Regions from separate parts of the Homo sapiens genome. Here all the other regions are linked to region 1. Evidence: promoter capture Hi-C in 16 types of primary human blood cells and fetal thymus (Javierre and others, 2016). All regions are on one chromosome and are shown on one strand. Each heading gives the region's core, a stretch centred on a gene start or on the middle of the fragment in contact. The rest is flanking DNA. Distances are from core to core; before and after follow the strand shown. Region 1 holds the start of ACTG2 (actin gamma 2, smooth muscle). Region 2 overlaps TET3 (tet methylcytosine dioxygenase 3). Region 3 overlaps TET3 (tet methylcytosine dioxygenase 3).

Region 1 (3,283 bases), core at 45-2,544:
AGTAATCAAAGTGAGCACTTAGAGCCTCCCTGTACAAAGTGTGGTCCCAGACCAGCAGCTTCAGTGTCGCCTGGGAGCTTGTTAGGAATTCCAAGTATCAGGCCATATCTCGGCCTACTGGAATCAGAATCTGGGGTGGGGCATGGGGCAATCTGTGTTTTAACAAGCACTCCAGGTGATTCTTAAAGTTTGAGAACTCAGGGCCGGGCCCTGACAGCCTTGAGCTGAGTGCTGTATATACGCATTCTCTCGTTTAATCCTCACACCATCGCCAAGTAGATATTATTATTCTTGCCCCCATTTTACAGGTGAGGAAGCTGAGGTCGCTCAGTAACTTGGTTAGCCTGACAGTCTGCCTTCAAGGCCTGCACTGCCACACCCAGCCTGCCTCACCTGTGAAGAGATGCTAGTGAATTCTGATGCCAAACATAGAAGTGGCCCCTTCATCTCATCTTCCTCTTAATTCTTTGTGCATGTGTTGTGTGTGTGTTGGGTGGGTTGGGGGGAGTAATGACATCTGCAAATGGGTCACAGTTGGGTGTGAGTCTTTTGGATGAGTGGCTGTACGTCTCTAGGCCTCAATGTCCTCATCAGAGGAGAATGAACTAGATGGGTCCCAAGTTCCTTCTACCCTGAAACCTCACGATGCCACAGGGCAAGTGGAATTTTCTCCATCCCCCAATGATCCTAGAGCCTTCAAGGACTGCAGAAACCCTCCATTCTCCTCAGCCAAGCACAGATCAGAGGACAGAGAGACCCACAGGGGACCTGAAGAAAATACCCTCCCATTCCCAGCACAGACATTTCATGGACTAAACAGCTCACAGACACCAGGACCACTGTTGGCTTTGACTCAAGTATTCTGAAAAGCTGCTTTTCTGCAAAGTATATGATCCCCTAAAACAGCCTCCCAGACATTCTAACCCAAGACAAAGGACATCAGGGTGTGGATCTGCACTGGCCCTGGGGAGCAGGGCTAGTAGAGACTGCAGGCATTATATCCCGCCAGTCCCCATTCTGAGGCAGGGAGCACGGTTCCAAGCTGCCCCTGCCCCAGGATGTCCCATGGCCAGATACGCCTTTTCTCAGCAGGCTGCAGTATGCTTGCAGGTGCCGCTGCCCACCAAGGGCTCTGGTGTGTGATCTGGGCCAGCGTCACAGAAGCCAGGCCAATCTGGAGGCACCTCCCGCACCCAGGAGGCCAGGCAGCCCCGGAAAGGAAGAGGTGGCAAAAGCCGTACAGTACTTACCGAGGGTATGAGAGGTTCTTCTCCCAGTGACTGAGGGCTGGTGTGTCTTTGGCATGAATACCAGAGCAATATAAAACCCCAGAGGCGGATCTTCTTTAAACAAAGTCCCTAAAAAGGCCAGCTGACGGTGTGTTAGCAATATTACCATATAAGGTGGTTTTTTCAATAAATCGCCTTGGGGGTAGGGAAGGGGGGTGGGTAGAGTGAGTTATCATTTGAAAAATGTATGCAAAAGGACTCAGTGGCAACAGCCCCGGTGCTGGTAGATTTGTTCCTTTTATGCTGCACTTGCATAAACAAAACTCACACCAGGCCTTATAAGCTGCCCAGAGTGAGACCAGATGCAGCTGTGCTCCTGGAGTGAGAACCATACCAAGAATGGCAGCGGGCCTCCTCCGTCCACACCTCCCTCCTCAGGCCCTGCTGCATGCGGCCCCTGGGTCTGCCTGGGACGCCCAGGCACTGTCCCCAAAATGGGTGCAATCATGCCTTGTCTGGCACGAGCCTGGGACCAATGAAAGCTGAAGAGAAATGCCTTCCGTACCCAGGAAAGAAATCCTGCGTGCCCTACTCACCTGCTGCACCTTGACACAAGCTCCTAACCCTTGGGCTGAGTTCTCTGAGGGTCTCAGGACACCTTAGGCTTCATTCTCTCTTGGCTCCTTCCTGGTTTTCCTTTAAATATCTCTAAATATCTGCAGACTGAGGGACCTGCTTCAGGGTTGAGGCACACCTAACAAGACTCTTGGCCTGTAGGATTTTCCACAGTCCTGTGATTCTTGAGCTGCTTCTTTTTCTTTTTTGAGATAGAGTCTCGCCCTATCCCCCAGGCTGGAGTGCATTGGTGCAATCTCGGCTCACTGCAACCTCCGCCTCCCAGGTTCAAACAATTCTCCTGCCTTAGCCTCCTGAGTAGCTGAGATTACAGGCACCTGCCACCATGCCCAGCTAATTTTTGTATTTTTAGTAGAGACAGGGTTTCACCATGTTGGCCAGGCTGGTCTCGAGCTCCTGACCTCGTGATCCACCTGCCTTGGCCTACAGGTGTGAGCCACTACGCCTGGACTTCTTTTTGTTTGTTTGTTTTGTTTTTAATTAGACAGGGTCTCGATCTTGAACTCCTGGATTCAAGCAATCCCTCCACCTTGGTCTCCCAAAGTGCTGGGATTACAGGTGTGAGCCACCATGGCTGGCTGATGATTGCTCTTCTTTGTGTAATTCATGTACTATCCCTAGGTAGCTGGTTCATTTCCCACATTATCAGCTACCAGCTCTGCAGTATTACTTTCAACTCCACATTCTCATGGTCCCCCTCCCTCACCCTGATCCAGACTAAAATGATCAATTGCCTATTGGACATCCCAATCCAGATGACTCTCCAGCTCTTCAAACTCATCCTGTCTAAAACTGAACCCTTCTTCCCTACCCTCAAAGCTGCTGTGCCTCCTGGGTTGCCAACTTCCAAGTCCACCCCTCGGCCCTTCAAGCTAGAAGTCAGTCAGTCTAGAACCCTGTGTCTCCCTCATGCTCCCACAACCACCTGGGCACCACAGCCTGGTGCTCCCCCGACCAGAAATGCCCCTCAGCTCTGTGTCCTCCCTCAATCCCTGCTGGCCTGCGCTGCCTCAGGCTCCAGTCCTATCTGGCCTGGAGTGGGGCGCAGCTTCCTGACTGGCCTTCCTGACTCTGCTTCGTCTTCAACACAGAGGTTCCCAAAGCATGGGGACCACCAGAGTGCAGCAGCAGCATGATATGGGAATGTGCTCACAATGCAGATTCTCAGGTGTCACCTAGCCCTATTGAAACAGAAACTCAGTGAATAGGCCTCAGCCATCTGTGTTTCTTAAACTTTCCCCACCCGGTGCCCAGGATACCCCCGCTTCAATAGAAGAAGCATGCATTGCATCCCTGCTAAACGCACAGGGAGTTCCAGGTGGTTTTGGGTCACCTGGTGCAATGGCTTGGTACAGGTCTGGCTTCCTCATTAACTGAAAATTGAGGCAGGAGATGGTGTGAATGAGGAGTGTCCTCTG
Region 2 (3,130 bases), core at 221-2,720, 98 kb before region 1:
GAGGCCAAGGTGGGCAGATCACCTGAGGTCAGGAGTTCAACACCAGCCTGGCGAACATGGTGAACCCCCTTCTCTACTAAAAAAACAAAAATTAGCCAGGCGTGATGGCACATGCCTGTAATCCCAGCTACTCGGGAGGCTGAGGCAGGAGAATCGCTTGAACCGGGGAGGTGGAAGTTGCAGTGAGCTAAGATCACGCCATTGCAGTCCAGCCTGGGTAACAGAGCGAGACTCCATCTCAAACAAAACAAAACAAAAAAAAAAAAGAAAAGAAAAAAAGATTGTGATTTTGCAATCACATCTGCAGGTGTTCAGTAGGAAGTGAATGACTCAGACTCAGGTAGGGTAGCTGGCTGGCTCTGTTTTCCCCAGGTTATATCTTCTGACACCACAGGGACCCAGTGTCTGTCCACTCTCTCCATCCCTAGAAAGTTGTAAGCCTACCTCTTCCCTCTCACTCTTGCTAGAACCATATACAAGACATTGTTATCAGCATTTTCCACCAGCCTTAGCACATTCTGGCCACTGGACTCCCTGATGCTCCTCTTAGGGGCTCAGACCACACTCCTGACTCTGCTTCAGTGCCATGTCCCCACTTTCCACATAATGTGCTTGGCCTTTTACCCCCTCACTCACTAGAGAACAGCCCATACAGCCACACAGATGGCTCAGTCCTTCCCCAGTCCCACCAACACCTTTCTCCTGAAGCTATCATTCATGACTGTTCTATCAGCGTTTCCTTCTTTTTTTTTTTTTTTTTTTTTTTGAGACAGAGTTTCACTCTTGTTGCCCAGGTTGGAGTGCAATGGCGCAATTTCAGCTCACTGCAACCTCTGCCTCCTGGGTTCAAGGGATTCTCCTGCCTCAGCCTAGGTACACCTGGGAGCCCCAGACCAGTTTGGTCCACCCTGGATCAATTAAATCAGAATCCCTTGGGAGTGGGGCCCAGGCACCATGTTTTGCTACATTTCCCAGGTGATCCCAATGTGGAACCCCTGATCTACATGGTTGACAGACTGAACAGGGCAGTCGTATCAGTGGCCTCCCTCTAAGATGACTTTAAGTCAAAAACTGGACTTCTCATCTGTCCAATCCTCAGGAGCTGGGATTACAGGCACCCACCACCACGCCTGGCTAATTTTGTATTTTTAGTAGAGATGGGGTTTCTCCATGTTGGTCAGGCTGGTCTCGAATTCCTGACCTCAGGTGATCTGCCTGCCTTGGTCTCCCAAAGTGCTGGGATTACAAGCGTGAGCCACCGTGCCCGGCCAGAGTTTGCTTTTTAACAAGCAATTCTATCCCTCCAGCTAATTTTCATTTAGAATCTGTGGCCGTGGAGTTAAAAACCGCTTGCATTTGAAAGACGATATTCTAAAGACTATCCATAAAAATTGTAATTCACCAGTTCAAGACCAGCCTGGGCAAAATAGCGAGACCCTGTCTCTATTTAAAAAAACACCAAGGGCCGGGCACGGTGACTCACGCCTGTAATCCCAGCACTTTGGGAGGCCAAGGTGGGTGGATCACCTGAGGTCAGGAGTTCAACACCAGCCTGGCCAACATGGTGAAACCCCATCTCTACTAAAAATACAAACACTCCTCCCTGTCCAACCTTCTTTCAGGCTTGACAAATGCTCAGATGCGGTCCCTTTCTCTAAAGATTCTCATCACTTCCACTTCTCTAGTCAATTCTCCCTTTGATGCTGAGACCAGCCTGAACACATTCCTCTCCACAGCCTCCATCTTCAGGAAGATAGAACTACCAGCAGGATGGGCAAGGATTCATCAGGTGTTCTGATATTGTTGAAAGATTCCCAATTCCAAGGTATCTTGACTCAAATCTGGCAGAGATCTGTTTCAAGATGTAAATCCAGTTGGCTGAGGGCTAGAAAGTATTCTCATCACATATATCTTTCCATTTCTCTCATTTTCACCCATAATATTCTCAGTCATGCTTCCAAACTTATGCATACATTTTTCTATGCATTTTTTTAAGGGTCATTCTCCTACTCTAATAGTTATTTACTTCCCTCATCCATGGTCAACTTTTCAGTCAGGCCTAGGACCATAGTGACTCCTTGGTGTCTAGCCTCCTCCCCCAGCACAGAGGCTGGCAAACTCCTCCCTCCCTCTGCCTGGCTCTACTGTTCTGCCCCACGGTTCTTCTATGAGCAAGTGAGGTGAATGCCTTGAGATAAACGCTTAATTTGTATTGCATCTGGAGTTGTATGCAGGCTGGAGTGCAGTGGCTCAAATATTGCCCACTGTGGGCTCAGGCGATTCTCCCACCTCAGTCTTTCCAGGAGCTAGGACTACAGGCACATGCCACCATGCCTGGCTAATTTTTTTTTTTTTTTAGCAATGGGGTCTTGCTATGTTGCCCAGCCTGGTCTCAAGTGATCATCCTGCCTCAGCCTCCCAAAGCTCTGGGATTACAGGAGTAAGCCACCATACCTAGCCCTTGTATTGCATCTTTACAGCTCGAAGACTAATGCACAGTTGTTTATGCATAAAGATTCATCATTTTCTAGATGTTTAGGAATGTTTTGTCATCATGCATTGATTACCTACTATGTGCCAGACATTATGCATATTTTATCTCATTTAATCCTCATGACAACCCTACAAAGCAGGGTTACTCCCATCTTACAATTGAGAAAATGGACACAGAAGGGATGGAGCACTGGTTGCCCAAGAGAGTAAGGGCACAGCACTTACTCTGGGTTCTCAGCCCTATCCACTGTGCTTCCTTACTCACCAAACCCTACTTTTCTACTCAGTCATCTTCATTGTACTACCAAGCCACCACTCAGGTAAAAAGAATATGAAATCAAACAACCTCCTCTAAAGTCTTCCTGGAACTAGGAAGGAAGACCACAGCTACTACCAACCTGCCCCAACCTCACATTAGGACCCAGAGAAGTAGTCACCGCCTCCTAGGGCAGGAAGGCCCATCCCTGGGGGACCTGTCTCTAGCCCTAAAATGCTGAACTTCTTTTCTGAGGGATTCCCCTGCACCCTTCTCCCCACCGACAAAGCCCAGAGAAAAAGAGTGAGGAGCAGGGAAAGAAGATGGAAAACCCAAGATAATCTCCTCCTTACAGGATGATATAAAGTAACTGCAAGCAGA
Region 3 (3,618 bases), core at 294-2,793, 130 kb before region 1:
GCCACCTGGCTGGGGAGACTCAGAGGCCCCAGGTGGGCACTGGGAGATGAAGTAAGAAACCAACAGCAGGGGATAGGGGCAGATAGAGCAATACTTCCAGATCTTTTCCCCAATCCAGTATTTCTTGAGTGTCCTCTTGGTTCCAATGTTTCCCAGGGATTAAAACAAACCAGCAGAGGAGCCAGAGAAGCATTTCTATGTCCTCTGCCACCCTGAGCATGGGAGATGAGTGAGTGGGAAGGGGAGGGTGAGCACAGACCACGGGATAAATGAGGAACAGCTTACTGCTGCGGTCAAGCAAAACCCAGGGAAACCCCGGGACACGCTGAACCAGATGCACAACTGCTAGAGAGGGATTAGAAATCAGCTCACGTCCTCACTCCCACCTTCTTTTTATGCATGTTGAGAGGCAGAAATCCTGACCCCTGCTTAACAACAGCAGGGATTCCCTTCTCTCCAAGGGCATAGCCCTCAAGCCCTTGAACAAGAGGTGGGAGTTCCCTTGTTCCTGGGTCCCTCCAAGGCAGGTAGACATCACCATCCTTGCTCCAGGGGCAGCAGAGACCAGTGGGGGCAGGGACCTGAGAGTCTGGAACCACTGCCAAGGGTACAGAGTGAATTGGCATGCCCCAGACAGCTCCATCAAGGAATAGTGCCTGCCATTCCCCAATTACAAACAAAAGCTTACATATAAAATGCAAACACCAAGCCTGGGCACTGTGGCTCATGCCTGTAATCCCAACACTTTGGGCAGGCAGACCACTTATGCCCCAGAAATCAAGACCAGCCTGGGCAATATGGTGAAACCCCATCTCTAAAAAAATACAAAGAATAGCTGGGTGTGGTGGTATGCACCTGTAGTCCCAACTACTAGGGAGGCTGAGGTGGGAGGATCACTTGAACCCAGAGGCAGAGATTGCAGTAAGCTAAGATCATGCCACTGCATTCCAGGTTTGGTGACAGAGTGAGACTCTGTCTCAAGGGAAAAACAAATGCAAACGCTATGGTAAAGATTAGCACACGGATAGGAATAAACTTCACGTAGGACATACTGGGTTGGGGGGATGCATATACTCTGGAGGAGAATAGTAGAAGAAAAAAGAAAGGCACTACCATATGAGAGAAGGTGACTGGGCACATAGGTGTGAACCCATCTCACAATGTTCTGTACAAGCTCTGCTTCCAGCCTTGATGAGTCCTCATCCCCTAAGGGAAGCTGCAGATAAGTTTGTTTGTGCTACCTTGAAATGATTGGAAGCTAAGAAAGCAGTTCTCCCAACTAGTTAGCACTAATGAGGGCTAACAACAAGGGGGCTGTGGGTCTCAGGATAATAATGAGATAGAGGCTCAGAGGGCTCCTCCCTGATGTCTGCACGTGGAAAAATGGCCCAGGACCTCCTTTTTCCTGCGGGGACAAGGAGGGTGCCCAATCTGTTATCCAGATCACAGCCTGCAGGGCCTGGAGCCAGGGCTGCTTGAGATTCTGCTGCTCACATTGGCCCAGGCTGTCACACTTTGAAGAGGTGAAGCTCACTGTCCCTCTCATCAATCTGATGCCACGGCGTTTATTAAAAGGATTTACCGCATGCTAGGCTTTGTGCCAGGTACTGGTGACATGAAATGGAGTGAGATGAGCACCCCACCACTGGGAACTCACACTCAGGCACACAGTATTGCCACGGAGGTACAGACAATATACCATGAGGACTTGAGGGAGAAAGGGACAGAAGTGTCAGAAGAGGCAGCACAGAGCAGCTGCATTTCTAATATGCGGGCAAAGATGGGATACAAAGTATAACAGAAAAGATCCCATTCCCAACAGCAACAACAGCAGCTACAGCATATCTAGGAAGAAACTTCACAAGAAATGTGTAAGAAGAAAACCTTAAAACGTTTCATTTATTTTGTTTGTTTGGTTTTTATTAGAGACAGAGTCTCCTTCTGTCGCCCAGACTGGAGTGCAGTGGCCAGATCATAGCTCACCGCAGCCTCCAACTCCTGGGCTACAGCGATCCTCCCACATCTGCCTCCCAAGTAGCTGGGACTACAGGCATGCGCCACCACACCCAGCTAGTTTTTATTTTTTGTAGAGATGAGGGTTGGCGGGGGGTCTCACTATGTTACCCTGGCTGATCTCAAACTCCTGGCTTCAGGCAGTCTTCCCGCCTCAGCCTCCCAAAGCACTGGCATTATGGGGCATGAGCCACCACACCTGGCCTTAAAACTTTGATGAACACACAAAAAAGACTAGAATAAACGGAAAGGTCTACTTCCCTTTCTCTGGATAGGAAGATTCATTGTAAAGCTATCTATTCTCCCCAAAATAACCTGTACGTTTCATGTGATTCCAACTGAAAAATCCCAGTATTTTTCGCAGAACATGGTAAGTTGTTTATAAGCTTATTTGGAGAAAGAAATGCCAAAAAAAAAAAAAAAAGTAAGAAGTATGTTTTAAACCAAAGTATTATATAAAAATGGTGGTAATTAAAACAATGAAATACACAGAATCAGACAAATAAGTCAATGGAAGTAAAAAGAGGCCTTAAAACACCCATGACTGTAAGAGTACTTATGAAATGCTTAAGGTAGAATTCATACACTACAAGGGAAACTACAAATACCCAATAAATAGATTGGGGATAACAGGCTTTCTATTTAGGAAAAGTTCAATCCCTATCTTATATCGCATGCAAAAATAAATCTCACCTTAGAAATCTGAACATCTAAAATAAAACTTAAGTAAGAAAAGCCAAAATACTGATGAATTCTCGTTGTATAAAAATCAAATTTTTATGATAGACACAATGAAAGACAAACAGGCCAAAATTTTTTTCAAAACGTAACAGAAGTTAGTATCAAAACCCTCATAACGATGAAAGCTATACTATGTTTTCTCACTTAAGATGACAGAAGAAGGCCAGGCACGGTGGCTCACACCTGTAATCCCAGCACTCTGGGAGGCCAAGGCAGGCCGATCACTTGAGGGCGCGAGTTCGAAAACAGCCTGACAAACATGGAGAAGCCCCGTCTCTACTAAAAATACAAAATTAGTCGGGCACGGTGGCACATGCCTGTAATCCCAGCTACTCGGGAGGCTGAGGCAGGAGAATTGCTTGAATCCGGGAGGAGGAGGTTGCAGTGAGCCGAGATTGTGCTACTGCACTGCAGCCTGGGCGACAAGAGCAAAACTCCGTCTCAAAAAAAAAAAAAAAAAAAAAAAGAGACAGAAGAGGTTTCATCTTATCCCAGTTAAAAAGGCTGTTAAGAAAAAGACAAAAAATAAATGATGGTGAGGATGCGGAGAAAGGGGAACTCTTACAGACTGTTGGTGGGAATGTAAATTAGTACAGCCATTACGGAAAACAGCATGGAGGTTTCTCAAAAAAACTAAAACTAGAACTACCGTATGATCCAGCAATCTCACTTCTGGATATACGTCCAAAAGAATTGAAATAGGTGTGTCAAAGAGATGTCTGTACTCCCATGTTTACTGCGGCAGTATTGACAACATCCAAGATATGGAATCGACCGAAGTATCAGTCAATGGATAAAGAACACGTGGTACGTGCACATAATGGAATACTAGTTAGCAATTAAAAAAACAACAACAACAAAATA

What was found. The method cuts DNA at HindIII sites, captures the fragments that hold promoters and counts their contacts. A CHiCAGO score of 5 or more calls a contact.
Region 2: a contact is called between a fragment that was not itself captured here and the fragment with the promoter of ACTG2 in region 1, in 2 of 17 cell types (activated CD4 T cells and naive CD8 T cells). The highest score is 5.4, in activated CD4 T cells.
Region 3: a contact is called between a fragment that was not itself captured here and the fragment with the promoter of ACTG2 in region 1, in 2 of 17 cell types (activated CD4 T cells and monocytes). The highest score is 7.0, in activated CD4 T cells.

What each region holds. Positions count from the first base shown.
Region 1 is chr2:73,891,019-73,894,301 of GRCh38, reverse strand. It overlaps ACTG2 (actin gamma 2, smooth muscle), which reads right to left and starts at 1,294. Exons shown (of 9, transcript NM_001615.4): 1 at 1,251-1,294. RefSeq lists an enhancer at 1,405-2,218. The HindIII fragment of the contact is 3,877 bases long and covers 1-3,283 here.
Region 2 is chr2:73,989,442-73,992,571 of GRCh38, reverse strand. All of the region lies in intron 2 of TET3 (tet methylcytosine dioxygenase 3), which reads right to left. Among named protein-coding and RNA genes, the nearest start is that of TET3, 6.1 kb to the right of the region's middle. The HindIII fragment of the contact is 5,630 bases long and covers 1-3,130 here.
Region 3 is chr2:74,017,564-74,021,181 of GRCh38, reverse strand. The region is part of intron 3 of TET3 (tet methylcytosine dioxygenase 3); the gene reads right to left. Among named protein-coding and RNA genes, the nearest start is that of TET3, 34 kb to the right of the region's middle. RefSeq lists a silencer at 42-121. The HindIII fragment of the contact is 1,716 bases long and covers 686-2,401 here.